Linked DNA regions of Homo sapiens: region 1 is linked to region 2. Evidence: promoter capture Hi-C in 16 types of primary human blood cells and fetal thymus (Javierre and others, 2016). All regions are on one chromosome and are shown on one strand. The core of a region is centred on a gene start or on the middle of the fragment in contact, and the rest is flanking DNA. Distances in the headings are between cores, read along the strand shown.

The links. The method cuts DNA at HindIII sites, captures the fragments that hold promoters and counts their contacts. A CHiCAGO score of 5 or more calls a contact.
Region 1: a contact is called between the fragment with the promoter of CTDSP2 here and a fragment that was not itself captured in region 2, in 1 of 17 cell types (monocytes). The highest score is 5.8, in monocytes.

Annotation. Positions count from the first base shown.
Region 1 is chr12:57,843,794-57,848,771 of GRCh38, reverse strand. It overlaps CTDSP2 (CTD small phosphatase 2), which reads left to right and starts at 2,043. Exons shown (of 8, transcript NM_005730.4): 1 at 2,043-2,400. The coding sequence starts at 2,337. RefSeq lists silencers at 1,562-1,741, 1,812-1,891, 1,902-2,331, 2,922-3,221, 3,552-3,601. The HindIII fragment of the contact is 5,566 bases long and covers 367-4,978 here.
Region 2 is chr12:55,752,878-55,757,376 of GRCh38, reverse strand. It overlaps GDF11 (growth differentiation factor 11), which reads right to left. Exons shown (of 3, transcript NM_005811.5): 3 at 113-4,499. It overlaps SARNP (SAP domain containing ribonucleoprotein), which reads left to right. Exons shown (of 11, transcript NM_033082.4): 11 at 1-107. Among named protein-coding and RNA genes, the nearest start is that of GDF11, 12 kb to the right of the region's middle. The HindIII fragment of the contact is 2,174 bases long and covers 2,094-4,267 here.

The DNA of each region.
Region 1 (4,978 bases), core at 794-3,293, 2.1 Mb before region 2:
AAGGCCCCCATAGCAACCTGACTATTGAAGATTTACCTTAAAGATCCTATTGTTTTAATGATGGGAGGTGGGTATGTCAGAACTCCTCCGTTTCCCTTTCTGTTAATGAATTAAGATCTACCCAAATTCAGTGTTTAAAGTTACATAAGCATCATTCAGATCTGTAACAGCCACTTTCATTTTGGAAAAACAGCATTTCCATTAAAATGATGTTATATAAAAAGGTTTTGTATACGTGCGTAGGAACAGCAGAAACAGGCACACATGATCACTGTATGGCACACAGGCATATGCAGATCATGACCTCACCTGTCCTCATGAGGAAGGGACCATAGGAAGCAGGTGTCTGATAGTACCTGGCAAGCTTAGCTGTGACCTAGTTGTCCTCTAATCATCAGTAAGACCTGATGCATGTTGGGCAATGGGAACTGCAGCAGGAAGGAAGCCCCTTCCTTGGCAGGGTGAGTGCCACTGAATCACAGAATATTGGGGTTGGATTTAGCTCAGAAGTCACCCAGTGCAATCTCACTCTACACCACTCTTGCCGGCCTTGACTTGAACAGCTACCATTGTCCCAAGGCAGCCCATGTCACCTGTGGACAGATGTAGATCACTGGAAAAGACCTGATATTGAGCTGAAACCAGCCTTTCTGGAGCTACCACCGCTGGGGAACAAAAGCACCCACAACCTTGAGCAGAGACTCCAGGAGCTGTAGCCAGCGGAGCGTGCCCCGAGGCCTAAAGAGCAAGTGGGGAAGGCAGCCTGAGTCCACAAAGCTGAAGCTCCTCCGAGAGACCTCCATCCATCTAAAGGAAGCTGGGACTGTGGGGGCAAAAAGAGAGGGGTAGGATGAGGGAGGTAGGGAGGAGGGGCGGAGTCGGGGCCGCCTAAATGGGAGTAAGTCGGTGGGTGTGAGGAAAGCCCAGCACCTCAGGTCTCATTTTCAGTGTTTTGGGGGACACAGTCCCGAGGTCAGTTCCAGCTCTTATACTCTGGAGTCCTAGGTCCGCCCACACGCACACACCCCTTTCGGGATTCGAAGGTTGTACTTTTTTTTTTTTTTTTTTGAGACAGAGTCTCGCTCTGTCGCCCAGGCTGGAGTGCAGTGGCGCGATCTCGGCTACCTGCAATCTCCGCCTCCCGGGTTCAAGCAAGTCTTTGCCTCAGCCTCCCGAGTAGCTGGGATTACAGGCGCCCGCCACCACGCCCGGCTAATTTTTTTGTATTTTTAGTAGAGACGGGGTTTCACCATCTTGGCCAGGCTGGTCTTGAACTCCTGACCTCGTGATCCACCCACCTCGGCCTTCCAAAGTGCTGGGATTACAGGCGTGAGCCACCGCGCCTGGCCTCGACGGTTGTACTTTTATGTGACTTGGTACGTCCTTGATTCTAGGGCTAAGCAGGGGGGTAAGGTAACTTCCGATCCGCCCCATCCCCTGCTGGAGTCAGGTTAGGCTTAGCGGCTTGTCTTGGTCACCCCTGAAGGGGGAAACCTTTCCACCTTCCCCGAGTGCGCCCTCCGAGAAAAGAACACCCCAGCACAGAGCACCAGAACGTGAGCTTCGGAGCGGCCTTTTAAATAGTTGGGAAGGGGGTGTGGCCGAGGAGACTGGGAGGCCGCAGTCTGGCGCGGGGGGAGTGGCCCGGGGGCGTGGCCGTGGCGCCTGGAATGTTGTTAGGTCCTCTCACCGCATAGTAAGGAGGGGCCACGCCCCTTTTCTCCAAGAGAGCCAATCGGAGCACCGGAACGGTTTCAAGTCTCCCCCGCCAGCCTGCCCGCCCGCCACCCCACCCCCCTTGAGGATTCGCTTTTTCCGTAACAAAATAGCAAAGCTCCCGACTGTCCGCAGCCCCGGCCGCTCACAGATGGAGGGTCCCAGGGCCTAGGACGCAGCCCCCAGCGGGAAGCTCCAGCTGGCCGTGAAGAGGCCGAGTCGAGAGCCGGGAGGCGCGCGGGGGTGGGCGCTGCAGCCGCGGGTTGTTTATCTGGAGTACGGAGGGGAGGGGGGAGCCTGGAAACCGCCCCGTGTCCCATTTCCTCCTCTTGTTTTCGCTCCGGATTCTCCATGTTGGACCCAAACTGAGGAGCCCGGAGCTGCCGCTGGGGGATCGGGGCCGGGGGCACCCGGGGGAGCCGCTGCCCGGGCCGCCCGCCCTTTGTACAGGCCGCCTCCCTTCCCGGTCCGGGGAGGAAACGAGAGGGGGGATGTGAACAGCTGTGGAAGTCGGAGTCTCGGGAGCCGGAGCGGGCCCCCGCCCAGGCCCCCCAGCCCAGCCCAGCCCGCGCGCCCGCCCGTCCTCCCGCCCAGCCAGCCCGGGCCCGCGGGATTGTTAGATGGAACACGGCTCCATCATCACCCAGGCGCGGAGGGAAGACGCCCTGGTGCTCACCAAGCAAGGTAGGGGCAGCAACTTCCCAAAACTTTGCGTCGCCCCCGGGCGCGGAGGGGGCTAGCACAGCCCCGAACCCAGGTCTCGGCCCTTGACCTCCAGGGCTTAGAGCCAGCGATCCCGACTGGACCCCTCCGGTCCATCCGCCCCCGCATCCCGGCTGGCACTCAGACCTCCGTGGGGGTTGCACGGGGATCCCGGCGCCCGAGCGGAAAGGGCGTCTTCGGCGCAGCTGTCACCCTGTCCCGCAACCCCTCCCCCTCGGGGCTGAGAGACGGAGGGGTAGCTCTCGAAGCACTGGGCCACTCCGCGTCCACCGCCTCCGGAGTTGGGGGTGGGGTCGTCACTTTCCTTCACCGCCGCGCGCGGCTGCCCCGGGATCGCGGGGAGGGGTTAGGAAGGTGACAGAGGGAGCCCCAGGTGGAACGGAACCGAGACTGGAGTCCAGCACTTGCAGGCCCCCCCAAGCCCGAGGTCGTTCGGGCAGCTAGCTGGCGGTGACGGCGTCCGGCGGGACTTGGGACCAAGTTCACCTCTTGGAGGCGGGGGCGGTCGCGGTGGGGGAGGGGCCCGGGCCCTGGCGCACCAGACGTGGCGGGTTCCCGGCTCAGCGCAGGCCCCGGGACCTTGGCGGCGTCGGGCTCCCTCCCGGCTGCCTCTGACCAGTTTCGCTGAGCAAACAAGCCCGACCCTGAGGCCCGGCCAGAGCCCCTCCCTGCCCGGTGCGCTCCCCCGGGGCCGGCGCTGCACACACAGAGCCGCGTTTGTTTAGCCCGGGAGCGGTGTCCCTGGTTACATAATTCGCCGGATGGCATCAGACCCGGCGTGGTTCTGAATCGCGCAGCGAAAAAGTGCGAGTTCTCTGTGGGCAGCGGCTGGCGGCCCCCGCCTTCCAGAGCGTCAGGTGGAGGCGCGAGGGGGCCCGCAGGCCCTCGCGGGGGTGAGGCGGAGGCCGAGGCCTCTCCCGGGGCGGGAGAAAGCTGGGGCCCGAGGGTGGAACCTCTTAGTTTGGTCACAGTGGGAGACTCGAAACTCTTTCCCCCTCCGCCACGTTCTTCTTTTGGCCTTGAGGAATGTGTCCAAAATAGCGGCAGATTTTCCGCGGGGTGTAAGGACGAGTGTGGCGTTTCTCTAGAGAGCCCCCCGACCGGGGCCACCTGGCCCCGGAGGCTGGGGCGGGAGCTGGCTCCTGGGGCCGAAGCCGGAGCGCTCCCTCCCCTTCTCCACCGAGCGCGAAGGGCCGGTGCTGCAGTTGAACACACTGAGGCCTAGAGCCTGGTGGGCGGCCAGCTTCGGGGCCTCGTGCGCCCCACGTCTCCCCGTTTGGCAACATTAGTCAGCAGGTCACTAATTCCTGGGGTTCACGTTCCAAGGAGCTCCCCCAACTTCCCTAGGGGCAAATCCGCTGAGTTGGTGGTGTCAGCCTCTCCCAAATTCCCTCAGTGGAACGAGAGGAGCTGGGAGGGGGGAAGGGTGGGGGGAGGGAGGCAGTGTGTTCCTCTTGCATCACTGGCCGGACTTTAAATAAGCCTGCCCTGAGAAGGGATGGCCTTGCCTACTCAGATCCCAACCCCCGAGAAGGCTCCGGCCTCCCTGACCTCGGTGTTGCCATGATTTCTGCTCTCCTGGCTGCATCACTAACCAGGCTGTGACCCAGGCAGCAACTTCACCGCCTCTGCTGGCTGCTCAACTGTGCTGATGGCTGAAAAAGGAAGGGAGCCTGCGTGTGTTTATAGCTCACTCCTGACTCTTCCCACTCCCTTTTTATCCCAGGAAAAGACCCTAAGAGCTAGCCAGAGGGGAAGAAACCTAGATGTGGGGGGATTCAAGAGGGGGCAGTGGTGATGAGTAGGGGGAGGAGCCCTGTGCTTCCCCACTAGGTCTTCCTCTCTTGCAGGGACTCTCTTGCAGGGAGTGTGCCTTGGGCATCGTGGGGCCACGCGAGGAGTAAGGGAAAGCTGGACTGCGCCGGGGCATCTTAGAAATCAGAGCTGGAAGTTTCATCCACCAGGGTGAATGGCAGGCTACAGAATAGATAACAGCAGAAAGCAAAGCAACTGGCTTGACAGTGTTAAGTTGCTGGTGTTGGATTTTCTTGGAGTTAATGTTTCTCCTTTTTTGTGTGTGTGGTTTAAGCCAGCAGCCACTGGGTCTCTCCCTCCCCATGTAATTTTTTATTTTAATTGAGATGGAGTCTTACTCTGTTGCCCAGGCTAGAGTGCAGTGGCGCAATCTCAGCTCACTGCAACCTCCGCCTCCTAAATTCAAGCAATTCTCCTGCCTCAGCCTCCCAAGTAGCTGGGATTACAGGCGCGCGCCATCACGCTTGGCTAATTTTTTTGTATTTTTTAGTAGAGACAGGGGTTTCGCCAGTTGCCCAGGCTGGTCTCGACTCCTGAGGTGATCAGCCCCCTTCGGCCTCCCAAAGTGCTGGGATTACAGGCGTGAGCCACCGCGCCCGGCCCCTCCCCATGTAATTTGATTGCATTCCAGAGAAGACAGACTTTCTTCCTGGGCTGCTTAGGCACCCAGCAACCACTAAACCAACTTTCTGAGTCCCACATCATTTACAAACAAAACCTACGT
Region 2 (4,499 bases), core at 1,931-4,430:
CCATGAACTGCGGCAGCAGTTTGACTTATTGCTGTTTCAGCTTTAAGGTTGTTGTGTTTTTGTTTTTGATTATGTTGCTTGTTAATAAAAAAAAATAGAAAAGAGAACAATGTGTTTTATTAGGTGCTCCTTTGATTTATTGGAGCTAGATTAGACCAGATAAGGGGAGCTTCAGGGGCAAATATTATAGAGAATTGGCCATAATACCTTTATCCCTTAGAAGAGAAGACAAGGAAAAGGACTGAGTTTACCCTTTAAGCCTGTTTATTCCCTTCTGTCATACTCACAAGCATTTTTTATCCTCTGTGAAGAGGTTAAGTTACCCACCCACCAAGTCTTTGCTCCAGCAGCTTGTAGTGACCCACTGAAATAAAACAGAACATGGGAGGTTTTAGGTGTTGCAAAGGATATAAATACAAGGGCAGTGATTAGTAGCCTTCTGTTATTAGCTAATAATGCAGACTTTTTCTTGGATAAAATGGAGTCCAGGGTCCCACATTAAAGGAAAAGGGCCCTGATTTCAAGGGTGATGTGATACGATACTATGTTGGTCAGTCAGTTCAGGAAGGGAGATGGGCTGGATATCCCTCAGAGACAGAAGAAATTTTGTATGCAGAATCAAAGCATGACAGAGGATGTCAGAGCTGTTACGCATTGTTAGCTAAATCATTGGGAACATAAGCAGTGGAACTGGAGGCTTCAAGTTCATGTAGATCTGAAACCTGCTTAATCTTTTTGGATATGTTATTGCAGAATTTCTCCTCTTAATCTTTATATAAGCTCGGTTTTTGTTTGAGCTATTTTTGGTAATAAGACTTAGGAGCCTGACACCTTACCTGAAGACTTTGGTACTATGATCAGGTCCCATGTTGCTGTGGTGTAATCCTTTATCCTTATTTCTACTAAAACCTGCCTGGTTTTGTGCTTAATGAAATGGTAATAGTTTGATCACCTTTCTAATGTCAAGATATCTCTTTATTTCTCCAAAGTCTCTGGTTGGTGAGGAAAGCAGGGACCTAAAGTTTAGATAATTTAGAAAAATTGTGCCTTGGAGAGCAGATCCAAAAACTGCTGCCCATTTGTTGTGAAGTTTGCCCCATTCTGAGACTTTGGAGAAGTGAACAAAAGGGAATGCTGGTTAAATTTTTGACACCTCTTCAACCAAATAAACCTTAAAATTGGAATGACCTTCCCTTTTCCCTCTTTTCTGTCTGCCTTCCTTTTCTTTACCTCAGGCTCTGATCTTGGGGCTAGCTTTTCCTCTCTCTACTCTGCCTTCATCTGAAAACAGAATAGATCTGATTTGTAACTTGAGAGATTATAGATTCACTAATGGTTTCTTCCTGAATATGGTTTTAAAAAGAGAAAAATACATGAGGGAATAGAGCAGATGCTGATTATGAAGTGGAACAGTGGATCTTTTGGAAGTTTTCTTCGTCTCTTTATCCTCTATAACCTTCCAGAAAGATATTCAGCCTTACTTGCCAGGATTCTCTTCTTGAAGCCTAATTATTCTCCTCACTCATCTTACTTCCCCTAGATCTTTGAACAGTGTTTTCCAATTTGTGAGGATTTTTTTTTTTTTCTTATTAACCTCTTTCATCCCATTTCAGCAGCTGTTCCTATGTTGGTCAGAAGTCTCTAACCTCCAAGCCAGATGAAGTCCTCCCCTTCCTATCTCATTATAGTCATTCTCCACATACTCTTTGAGCATGAATAGTTCAGGATGCCTTTTTCCCAATTCAGTTTTAAAATAGTAATTCCGTTTGGAGATGGAACAGACATTGAGGCTTGTAATTGTTTACCTGAGATCTTAGTACCCTTCCTTCCTCTCCCCGTTTCCCTACTATAGTTGATCCAGCATCCAGATGTGGTTAACTGATTCCAATTCCTGAAGCTGTGACATTCTCTGCATACCTGGAAGCTCTTAATGAGGGAGTCTATAAAAGCTGTGGGGAGAACTAGCTTCCTCAGCTGTAAATCTGTACTTTTTTATGGTTCTCTAGGATTATTCTTTTTTTCCACTCTCACTCTAAACTGCCCAGCCCCCCACCCCACCTCTTAAGAACTGCTGAAGATAGAGGCTAGAAGCTTCTGTGAGGATGAGGGCTATAGGAAGGAAGGTGTGAATAAGGGCAGGACTTCTTGGTGTTGAGCTGAGTTCTCTTGCTGTGTCTGATATGAGGAGTGAGGGAGGAACTTAAGGGAGGATAACTTTTTTGCTGTTCTCTTATATGAGGGCCTCTGGCAATGCCACTTATTTCTGATTATTGGAATCCCCCCAAAATTTAACCTCCCCTTCTCTTGCCATATCTAGACTTTTCTTGTTTTTCCCTTCCAAAGGGATTTAAAATTACAGGTTTCACATCTTTCCAGATTCTTTGAGTCCAAGGTGTCCCTAACTTTCTTGTTATCTCTTTCCCTTATGTTATTCCTGTATTTAGGTTTCTACCTCCCGGATCACTTTCAATAGGATAGATTAGAATGTAATATTGTTTAGCAACTACTTAGGTTTAATTTCTTATTCTACCACACTAGCTCTGAGACCCTGCGCAGATAATCATTCTCTTTTCAGACTGTACCAAAAGGAACCCCATTGTGAAGGTTGCTGTGTGAATTAAGTGATATTCTCATATCATGTATTCACACTACAATTTGCTTACCATAATTTGCATAGTAATTATTCAATAAATATTAGCTTTTACTGGGTGATCAGGGTACTGTGGAAATACATATTTCTTTCCCTGAGTAGGTTCTAGCTAGGTATGAGTGCCCTAGTTTGAACATGTTTGTGTGTGCATACACCCAGTTAATGCAGTCGTATTTTGAGAAAAAGAAAAGGCAGAAAGAGTCCCATTCACTCCCTCAAGCCCAGCTCACTGGCAGGAAAGCTGGACATTGTTGCTTTGGAGCATTGATTTTCCTGCTTCTACGCCACTACAGACCAGAAGCTGTAGATGCCACTGCCTGCTGATTCTTAGCTTGGGGCCCCTGCCATTTAAAATATAGGCAAGGTCAGAGTATAGGATAGCTTCCCATGCCTTCGGTTGGAGGATGTTTTAGGATAAAGAAAAGACTTGTAAAAAGTCATCTTGAGTAGTCTTTTTTTGGGTGTTCTCTCAATATAGGAAACAAATGAGCCACAGGGAGAGAAAACCCATTTTCAGCTCAGGCCAAAGTTAGGGGTAGATGTGGATATGGTTCCCTTGGGAAGATAGAATACATAACACTTCTGCTACTCAACCACTTCCAGCCTTAGTCTTGTAGTTGGTCTCGAGTGGGGTCAGTGTGCTGATAGAACTGATAAGACAGGGAAAACATGGCAGTACATTGAACCCGCAGTAGCGCTGTCCCCAATTCTGGATCAGGTTGATGTCACAGGAGCTTTCCTTATTTTTATTTTACTTTAATTATTTTTAGAGACAGTGTCTTACTGTGTTGCTCAGCTTGGAGTACAGTGGCTATTTACAGGCCCAATTATAGCACACTGCAGCCTTGACCCTCTGGCCTCAAGTGGTCCTCCTGCCACAGCCTCCTGAATAGCTGGAACTACAGGAGCACACCACTGGGTCCTGCTTTCCTTTTTTTTTTTTTTTTTTTTTTTTTGGAGATGGGAGTCTCACTCTGTCACCATGCTAGAGTGCAGTGGTGCGATCTCAGCTCACTGCAACCTCCGCCACCTGGGTTCAAGCGATTCTTCTGCCTCAGCCTTCCATGTAGCTGGGATTACAGGCGCACGCCACCACGCCCGGCTAATTTTGGGTATTTTAGTAGAGATGAGGTTTCACAATGTTGGCCAGCATGGTCTCGAACTCCGGACCTTGCATGATCCGCCCGCCTCGGCCCCCCAAAGTGCTGGGATTACAGATGTAAGCCACTGCGCCCAGCCAGCTTTCCTTATTTTTGAAAAATGTGAGTCAGGCAATATTCTTTTGCCATTCCCAACTCATATTCCTGGGGAATTGTGCTCTAGGTACATGGGAAAAATTTTTACAGTGAACTGAAAGAATATTTGAGATGCTATTTTAGCCACTCTTGTGTAACAAGGCAAGTTCGTTGGCTATGTTGGTTTAGATTTTTGTCAAACTTCGTTGAGGAAACCTAGGAACAGGGACTGCAGGAGAATAGGACACTAGCTGGATCATCTCAAGAGAACCTTTAGATCTTCCATACTAGCTGGATCATCTCAAGAGAACCTTTAGATCTTCCATTCTGTGGAGGCTGGGAGAGGGGTCTTGTTGTCTTTGGGACTGTTTTGGCTCAAGCTTTTCAGAGAGGGGTTGTTCTAGGTACCCCCAGTTTCCTGTCCTCTTTCCATCCTTCCTTGGCCTGCATGTCCCAAACCTTATACCACCATGCCCTTAGTGTTTTCTGTCTTGCTCCAGGACCCCATCTTCTTAGTCATTGAACACGAGGTTTCCTGTCTCAGATCCTCTTCACCTCCGGTTCTCCAAGGTGTAAATGTGGCACTTGATTAGGGAGAAGAGCTCAGCACTGAA